3 separate regions of the Homo sapiens genome follow, and all the other regions are linked to region 3. The links are contacts of gene promoters, found by promoter capture Hi-C in human tissues and cell types (Jung and others, 2019). All regions are on one chromosome and are shown on one strand. The core of a region is centred on a gene start or on the middle of the fragment in contact, and the rest is flanking DNA. Distances in the headings are between cores, read along the strand shown.

The links. The method cuts DNA at HindIII sites, captures the fragments that hold promoters and counts their contacts. A contact is called where the count stands out against the background at its distance.
Region 1: a contact is called between a fragment that was not itself captured here and the fragment with the promoter of LFNG in region 3, in 2 of the 25 tissues and cell types used here (IMR-90 fibroblasts and spleen).
Region 2: a fragment that was not itself captured here is called in contact with the fragment with the promoter of LFNG in region 3 in 1 of the 25 tissues and cell types used here (dorsolateral prefrontal cortex).

What each region holds. Positions count from the first base shown.
Region 1 is chr7:2,718,711-2,721,410 of GRCh38, reverse strand. It overlaps AMZ1 (archaelysin family metallopeptidase 1), which reads right to left. Exons shown (of 7, transcript NM_001384743.1): 7 at 1,728-2,700. Among named protein-coding and RNA genes, the nearest start is that of AMZ1, 32 kb to the right of the region's middle. The HindIII fragment of the contact is 7,405 bases long and covers 1-2,700 here.
Region 2 is chr7:2,736,961-2,739,660 of GRCh38, reverse strand. All of the region lies in intron 2 of GNA12 (G protein subunit alpha 12), which reads left to right. It also overlaps a transcript of AMZ1 not described here. Among named protein-coding and RNA genes, the nearest start is that of AMZ1, 50 kb to the right of the region's middle. The HindIII fragment of the contact is 6,430 bases long and covers 1-2,700 here.
Region 3 is chr7:2,518,524-2,521,223 of GRCh38, reverse strand. It overlaps LFNG (LFNG O-fucosylpeptide 3-beta-N-acetylglucosaminyltransferase), which reads right to left and starts at 1,450. Exons shown (of 8, transcript NM_001040167.2): 1 at 931-1,450. The coding sequence starts at 1,362. RefSeq lists silencers at 1,275-1,384, 1,395-1,924. The HindIII fragment of the contact is 23,923 bases long and covers 1-2,700 here.

The DNA.
Region 1 (2,700 bases), core at 192-2,691, 200 kb before region 3:
TGTGTGGCAGTGGATTCTGCAGCATGCGTCGCATCCACGGGCTTCCAGAGTGCGTTCCACCGTGGGGCAAGCACCTTTCCCGAAGCAGAGGCCTCCTCACATCTTCCACACATCTGCGGTGCGCGGCAGGAGAGTGAGGTGAGCGCTCAGCACAGGGCCCGGCTCAGGCCTTAGTCCCTGTGCTTCCACTCCTGAGCTCCACCCTCCCCTGGCCTTTCCATCCCTCCCAGGCACAGGCGTCCTGGGTTGCTCTTCCTCCCGGCATTGGCAGGAACCTCCCGCGCCACCCAGTGTGTCTTCAATAGAGTCGGTCGTTTTGCAGCTGCTGGTCGCCACCACCAGACCTGTGGGCGTAAGGCAGGCAGCCAGCGATGACAGCCCGCAGGGTCACACAGGAAACATGCTGTGACATTCGTATAAACAGAAATAACGGGCTGGGCGTGGTGACTCACACCTGTAATCCAGGCACTTCGTGAGCCCGAGGCAGTAGGATTGCCTGAGCCCAGGAGTTCAAAACCAGCCTGGGCAACGTGGCTGAAACCCTGTCTCTACCAAAAACAAGTTTTTAGTTAGCTCAGTGTAGAGATACACACCTGTAGTCCAGCTACTTAGGAGGCTGAGGCAGGAGAGTCGCTTGAGCCCAGGCATTTGAGATAAGCCTGGGCAACATAGCAAGACCCCTGTATCTAAAATAATTTTTTTTTTTTAAAGGCTGGGCGCAGTGGCTCACACCTATAATCCCAGCATTTTGGGAGACTTCGGTGTTTCACTTGAGGTCAGGAGTTCAAGACCAGCCTGGCCAGCACGGTAAAACCCCGTCTCTACTAAAAAATACAAAAATTAGCCAGGCTTGGTGGCAGGCGCCTGTAGTCCCAGCTACTTGGGAGGCTGAGACAGGAGAATCGTTTGAACCCAGAAGGCGGAGGTTGCAGTGAGCCAAGATCGCACCACTGGACTCCAGCCTGGGCAACACAGACTCTGTCTCAATAAATAAAAATTCAAAAAAATAATGATCCCCTCCAGCCCCCAAAACACACACTAGTCTTTCTCTTTTTGTCACAGCGCATAAAAAGTGTTCACCCTGACGTGGGGAGACATGGAAACGGGGAGTGAACATTTGTGAAGTGACTCTTCATTTGACAGGTGTTTTAAAAGCCTCCAGCAGTGACTAAGTGTTTGTGGATGGGCGTCCGCGTGGGTAGATGAACCGGTCCATGTCAGCAGAGGAGCCGAGTCTCAGAGGGGAGCCGCGCTTTGCACGGAAAGCTCTGCAGCAGTGCGTGGCAGCCCTGTCGGTAGGTTCCCGTCGGCTCCTTGCCTTCTCAAATGCAAGGAATTGCTTATCGAATTCAACAGACACATTCTCTTTTCATTTAGCCTTCCAGAATTTCATCCTCTTCGTTTAAGCCCTTTTTAAAATTTGGAGTTGAGGCTGGGCACGGTGGCTGACGCCTGTAATCCTGGCACTTTGGGAGGCCAAGGCGGGTGGATCACGAGGTCAGGAGTTTGAGACCAGCCTGGCCAAGGTGATGAAACCCCATTTCTACTAAAAATACAAAAATTAGCCGGGCATGGTGTGGCAGGCACCTGTAATCCCATCTACGTGGGAGGCTGAGGCAGGAGAATCGCTTGAAACTGGAAGGCAGAGGTTGCAGTGAGCCAAGATCACACCATTGCACTCCAGGCTGGGCAACAAGAGCGAAACTCCATCTCAAAAAAAAAAAAAATTGGGGTTGATAGCATTTATTAATTTTGAGAATGAAAATGTAAGATGTAAGCATTATAGAAAAGCTGAGTAACAATTTATTTTGTATATCAAAGTCGTCCATCAGTCATTGCAGTATAAAATGTTCCAGGTGTATTTCCACTTGGACTGGATTTTTAAAAATAACTGTGCCATACAATCGAGCGGTGATCAAAGCTCATGTAATTAGGGCTAAGTCGTTCCCGTTGGGAGAGGCTATTGTGGGACTTGTGCGTCGGGCCAAGGGATGCTCTGGGCTCTGCTGTTGGAGCAGAGGAGGGAGCTCTGCCAGGCGCGCGGGCCTTTGCCCTCTTTAGGCATTGCTCCTGCTTGGGGGTCCGTGACAGACATCAGGTTATGCCATCAAGAGCCCCACGTGAAACAACTGCCTCCAAGTGGTGCAGGCGGGAGAGGCGGCCGGAGGATGGCAGGAATAAAGAGACACCCCCCTTCCGACAGGGGCCACCTGCCGTTCTGTCGGAGGAGTTGGGTTGGCAGCCGACAAAGCTGCTGCCCGCATCCTGCCCATCCAGTAAAGGCCTCGAGCCCTCACAAGGGGGCGCCCAAGAGGACGGCCACCACCCACCCAGAAGGGCACAGGTAGAATGTGGTAGAAGTTTGATCTCACTTCAGATGGGGGGGAAAAAAAAAAAAAAAAGTCGCCTGTTCTTGCAGCTTCCCTCCCTCTTTCCTTCCTGCTCATACATTTGGAATAAATGGCCGGAGCTCTCCTGTACCCCTGCCTGTGTTAAGCGACCCTGAGAAAAGCGTGTTCTCTGCCTCTTCCAACCCACTCCGTTTCCCGTGGTTTCTGTGACTCCCCTGTTCCCAGAGGCCTACCCCAGGTGGGCAGAGCACAGGGAGAGGAAGTCCCTGAGAGCCGGACGCAGCTCGGCCCTGGCCTGCCCGCTTCTCCCTGACCACAAGACCAAGCCCGGCTGCACAAGCCCTGTCCT
Region 2 (2,700 bases), core at 113-2,612, 220 kb before region 3:
AGTTTCACTCCTAGGTGTATACTCAAGAAATGAAAACAGATATTCAAGCAAAAACTTCCACACAGCTGTTTGTAGCACTGTTCACAACGGCCAAAAACTGGAAACAAAGTGTTCATCAACTGACAAATGGAAAAACAAACCACATATCCATACAATGGCATGTAATATACATATATATATATTGGCCGTAAAATGGAATGTTGCACTGGCCTGTGCCACAGCATGGGCGAGCCTCGGAAATGCCGCACCAAGTAAAAGAACCAGACACAAAGGGCTGCATGCTGTGTGAATGCGCTCCAATGAGAGATCCAGAACCGGCAAATCCATGGAGACAGAAAGCAGATTCGTGTTGTCAGGGTCTGGGCCAGGGCAGTGGGAGTGGCGGCTGATAGGCTGTAGAAGTGGTGGCCGTACAACATTTTGAAGGTAGTAAATGCCATTGAATGGTTCATGTCAAAATGGTGAATTTTCTATTATGTAGATCTTACCTAATGAAAACATAAAGGAAGAACCCAGGCAAGGGGGCTGGTGCTTTAGGGGCCCGGCGTGGCACCCCTGTGACAGCAACCCTGCACACGCCGAGGACACACCCTGCGGAGCCTGAGCTTACAGTTGTAGAGGCTGCTCCACGGCCAAGGACCCTGTGCAGCTCTTCCTGGGGTCTCACTGCTGTGACCAAGGGGTGGCTGTGTGCCAGGCTTGGAGACGAGGTGTCCACAGGCACAGCCACGAGGCTACACACAGGGCAAGGGGGCCAAAGCGTGGCCAGAGTCAGGGGCCAGCTCCTCTGTACTTTCACATTCTGGCAAAAAACAAAAAAACAAACAAAATAAAAAACAGGAGGAGGCCAGAATTCTAGGTTCCGCCTCTAACCTTATTGTCCTATTGGGTTCATTTGCTTTAATTTGGGTTCAATTTTGAGGGGTTGGTTTTTTATTTAATTTTTTTTTAATTATGGAAGATGTTAGCATGGTTCCAAAGTCAGACATACTCAGAGAGGGCTACTCCTGTCTCTGTCCCATCCCCCATTCCCTCCCTCCCTAGAAGTCATTTTTATCTGCTGCTGGTGTATCCACGTTTCCTTTTCCAAATATAAGCAAGCAGAATATGGGTTTTAGTCTCCCGCCATTTCTTACATAAAAGGAAGATACTCTGCGTTGTTTCGTGCCTTGTGCTTTTCCTTTGGCAGTGGGTATCGGAAACCTCCTTCCAGCCACGGAGCTCTTCTCCTTCGCCGGTGCGTAGCCCCTGACTGCGTGGAGATCACAGTTTCCTCAAGCAGCTTCTCCTACTAGACGTTTCCTGCAGTGACAGCTTGTGCCTGCGTCACTTTGTATTTCTGCCAGTGAATCTGTTACCTAATTTTTTTTTTTTTTTAGATGGAGCCTCACTCTGTTTTTGTATTTTTAGTACAGACAGGGTTTCACCATGTTGGCCAGGCTTGTCTCGAACTCCTGACCTCAAGTGATTGCCTCGGCCTCCCAACGTGCTGAGGTTACTGTGAGCCACCACGCCTGGTCCTCTTACCTAATATTTGGGGATGATAAATTAGCAACAAACAATTCATAGGTACCCAAATTAAAACTTGAAAAGCTTCCTTTTTCTAATGTATATGAATGTGGTGTTGTATCTCTTTTCCAGAATACTTTCACAGCTGTGGTATCATTTAATCTCACGCCAGCCCTGTGAGATGTCACAGGCGTTCACTGAGCAAAGCCTGAGTTCAAAATGAGGATTTCTTTTGGGGAACTAGATACTGTTTTTAAAAGTATTTTGAAAGATTCTCTGTTGTTTGGCTAGCGTCTCTATTCAGTGGAAATCAAATGCTAACTTTAATATTTATTTATTAAGTAATGAAATTGAAAACCTGGGCCTTTGGCATAGTTTGCTGTTACTTTTCATACACAGCAGTTTTAAAATTTGTCTTTGTAATTTGTCACGTTGAAGTGAGTGAACTAGATTTTGGAATCCTCTAGCTCACCATTAACAAGCCCTGTTTTCGGTCACAGTGTGAATGACCCCGCTTTAGGATTTTAGAGTTAACCTCACTAAGTGCAGAAACTGTAAGACAGGGCCGGGCGCTGTGGCTCACGCCTGTAATCCCAGCACTCTGGGAGGCTGAGGTGGGTGGATTACCTGAGGTCAGGAGTTCGAGACCAGCCTGGTTAACCTGGTGAAACCCCGTCTCTACTAAAAATACAAAAGTTAGCCGGGTGTGGTAGTGCACGCCTGTAGTCCCAACTACTCTGTAGGCTGAGGCAGGAGAATTGCTTGAACCCAGGAGGCAGAGGTTGCAGTGAGCCAAGATCACACCACTGCACTCCAGCCGGGGCGACAGGGCGAGACTCCATCTCAAAAAAAAAAAAAAAAACAAAAAAAAAAAAAACAAAACAAAACTGTGAGATAGCTCCTGAATGGGCAGATAGGGTTTAAAATTAAAAGGCCCTCTGGCCAGGAGCTGGAAGTTGGTGTTTGTTTTCTTTGTAACCACTCTCTGGTCCTTGATCTGTCCCTACTTAGACGCTTACATCTGAGACCAATCCACGGTTACCTTTTCCTCTCACTCCCCAGTGGGACCCACACATGGGCTGTCTTTAATGCACACCCTGTCAGTCTGTGACATTGACAGGCAGGAACTGAACCAAGCATGTGGGTAGAAAGGCTCCAATTAGGAGCAGAGGACAAGAGGGAACCAGAGTC
Region 3 (2,700 bases), core at 201-2,700:
CGTCGCCCTCATGACCTCACCAAGCCCTGCTCCCACCCACCCACAGTGCCCCAAAACAGGACAGCGCCAGGTCAGAAGGCCCTGGGTCTCCGGGGTTTGAGCAGGGAGGAAGGCGTGCAGGGTCTTCCCTGAGCCCCCACCCTCACAGCAAATGCCTCTGCATCTCCCAGCCCAGAGACACCCCCCCAGTCCCCGACTGCAAGCCCCACACACTGTCCCCATCCCGCCCCAGCCCAACCGTCCTGCTGTGGCCTCGAGGGAAATGTTCAAAGTGGGGTGTGTCTTAATTATGTGTGTGTAAGAAGCTGATGCCCAACTGAAGTGGGCTGTGCCCAAGGTTGCAGGCCTCAGAGACTACTGCACTGTGCGGGGAGGGTCCCCACACAGACCCCAAAACCTGGAGTTCTTTGAGATGTACTCCCCAGGACCCACCAACCAGCAATGACTTCCCTCCCTCCCCGTACCTTAACACTGTGATGAGGAAAGGGCCCAGAGGTCAGAACCCCTCACTTCTCTAAAGGAAGAGCCTTTCTCCCCAGGAAGGGGTCTGAGCTGAGGGTGGGTCCGAACAGAATTTGCTTGTGGAAGTTTGAGGACATAATGCCCTATGAATGCGCTCCAATGTTTACGGGGTGAGAAGTATCACAGGGCACCAACCCCAAGCACTGGAGACTGGTGTAGGGTCCTGCAGCCATCCAGGACTCTGGAGCTGGACAGGAGGCGGGGCCCCGGGGACAGTAACACAACTGTAACGGGAGAGTGGCCCCAGCAGGCAAACTGGGTGCACCGGGGTGCACTGGCGTCGCCCACAGATGGCCCTAGTGGCTGGATGGGGATGCAGCCTGACTCCCATGGGACACTGCCACCAGCTGGACCAGATGGTGGGTCCCCGCCCCGCTCGCCCGCCAGTCCAGGCCGCGGGGGGCTCACCATCTCCTTGTGGCGCGAGATCCAGGTCTCCAGCAGCAGGTCGAGGCGCGCGCGGTGGAACTTTTTGGTGGTCTTGACAGCGATGAAGACGTCTCGGGGCGCGAGCGGCTCGGCCAGGGGGCGCGGGTGGCCGTCGGCGGGGCGGGGGGCAGCCCCGGGCGGCGGGCCCGCATCTCTGCGCGCGCGGGTGAGCAGGCTGAAGTACTCGGACAGACTGTGCACGTCGCGGACCAGCGCCCCGGGCGCCGCCGCCGCCGCCCCCAGCCCGGGCGCCGGGGCAGCCCCCGCGGGGCCCGCCAGGCTGCGCAGCGCGCGCCGGCCGCGCTCGGCGGGCAGTGGAGGCGGCGGCGGGTCGGCGGTGAGCACCAGCAGGCAGGCGAGCAGCGCGCCCGCCAGCGCCAGCAGCAGGCGCCGGCCGCAGCGCTTGAGCATGGTGGGGTGGCGGCCGCGCGGCGCGCCCTTCCCCGTGCGCCTGCCTTGCACCGACCCGAAGCCCGTCGCTCCGGCGGCGCAGTCCAGCAGCGCAGCACCAGTGTCCCGCGCTCTTAAACCTCCCCGCCCCGGTCCCGCCCCCGTGCGCTCATTGGCTCCCGGGCTCGGGGGCGGGGCCTCGCGCCGGTCGCCGCTCCACGCCCGCAGACCCACGTGGGGCCGCGGCTGGGGGCTGGGAACTGCCCAGAGGGCGCAGCGGCCCCGCCCCCGGCGCGCACGTGCACGCCCCGCACCCCCCCCGCCCCGGGTAGCCCCTGCGGGCCGCCGAGGGGCTTGGGGACGGGCCCGGCCCGCGCCGGTGTCCCTGAAGAGGAAACCCAGCCTGGCCAGCGCCGTCCGGGGATGCACCGGGCGTCCCGGCACGGGAGGGGCGCGCCCTCGGCGCAGCGGGCAGGGTGCTGAGACCCGGGCTCTGGGCTCCGACGCACCGCGGGGGACATCCTACTTCCTCGCTGTGCGCTTCCCCTCCTGAGCACGGCTTCCTCCCCTTGGGACGCGGCAGGCCTTGCAAACTGGGGTGGCGCCTGGGTCTTCCCGAGCGCTCGGTTCAGGGGAGCCGTTATTTGTACAGAGCAAGAGCTTGGCCACCTGTGCCGCAGGTGGGGACACGAGGTTCTAACGAGAAAGCACCAGAACCAAATTCCACTCCTTCCTCCCTGGCTGATTTCCTCGATCCTGGCCCTCCGTCGGGAGGGTTGGCTCCCCGAAATCCTCAGGCGCCCCATGGCGAGGAGAAACGAAGGCCGCCACTTCCCTCGCCGGATGAAAGGCCGCCTTCTGTCCCATTTGGTCTCCTTGCGCTCGGGCCAGATGCGGCCCAGCTGTGCGCCCTCCCCACCCCGCCTCCCCGGCACACGGCCCCCATCCCCGGCCCTTCCCACGGGCCCGGGCCCGCCCCTCGCACGAGCGGGGGCGGCAGGAATGCGCGCCGGCAGCCGAGGGTGAGGGGCGAGGGGCCCGGAAGTGGCCAAGGGTCGCCTGAGCAGGGTGTGAGCCCCCTGCCCGCCACGTCCTCCGGAAGCGTGGACGGAGGCGGCTCTGCCCGTGGCTGCGCTGTCTTCCCGTGCCCTCCTAAGCAGGGTCTCTGCGACCACCACGACCACCACCGCCACCACCGTGGCTAAACTGCCCCCCTCGGAGTTATGTTCACGCCTGAGATGGCATTTTAAATTCTTTAAGTGCCCTTGGAGCCCCTCTCCTTACCTCTACCTGAATGTCAGCCGCAAGACAGCAGCGACCTGGTGTCATTCAGACCTGGAACAGGTTTTGGGACATAGT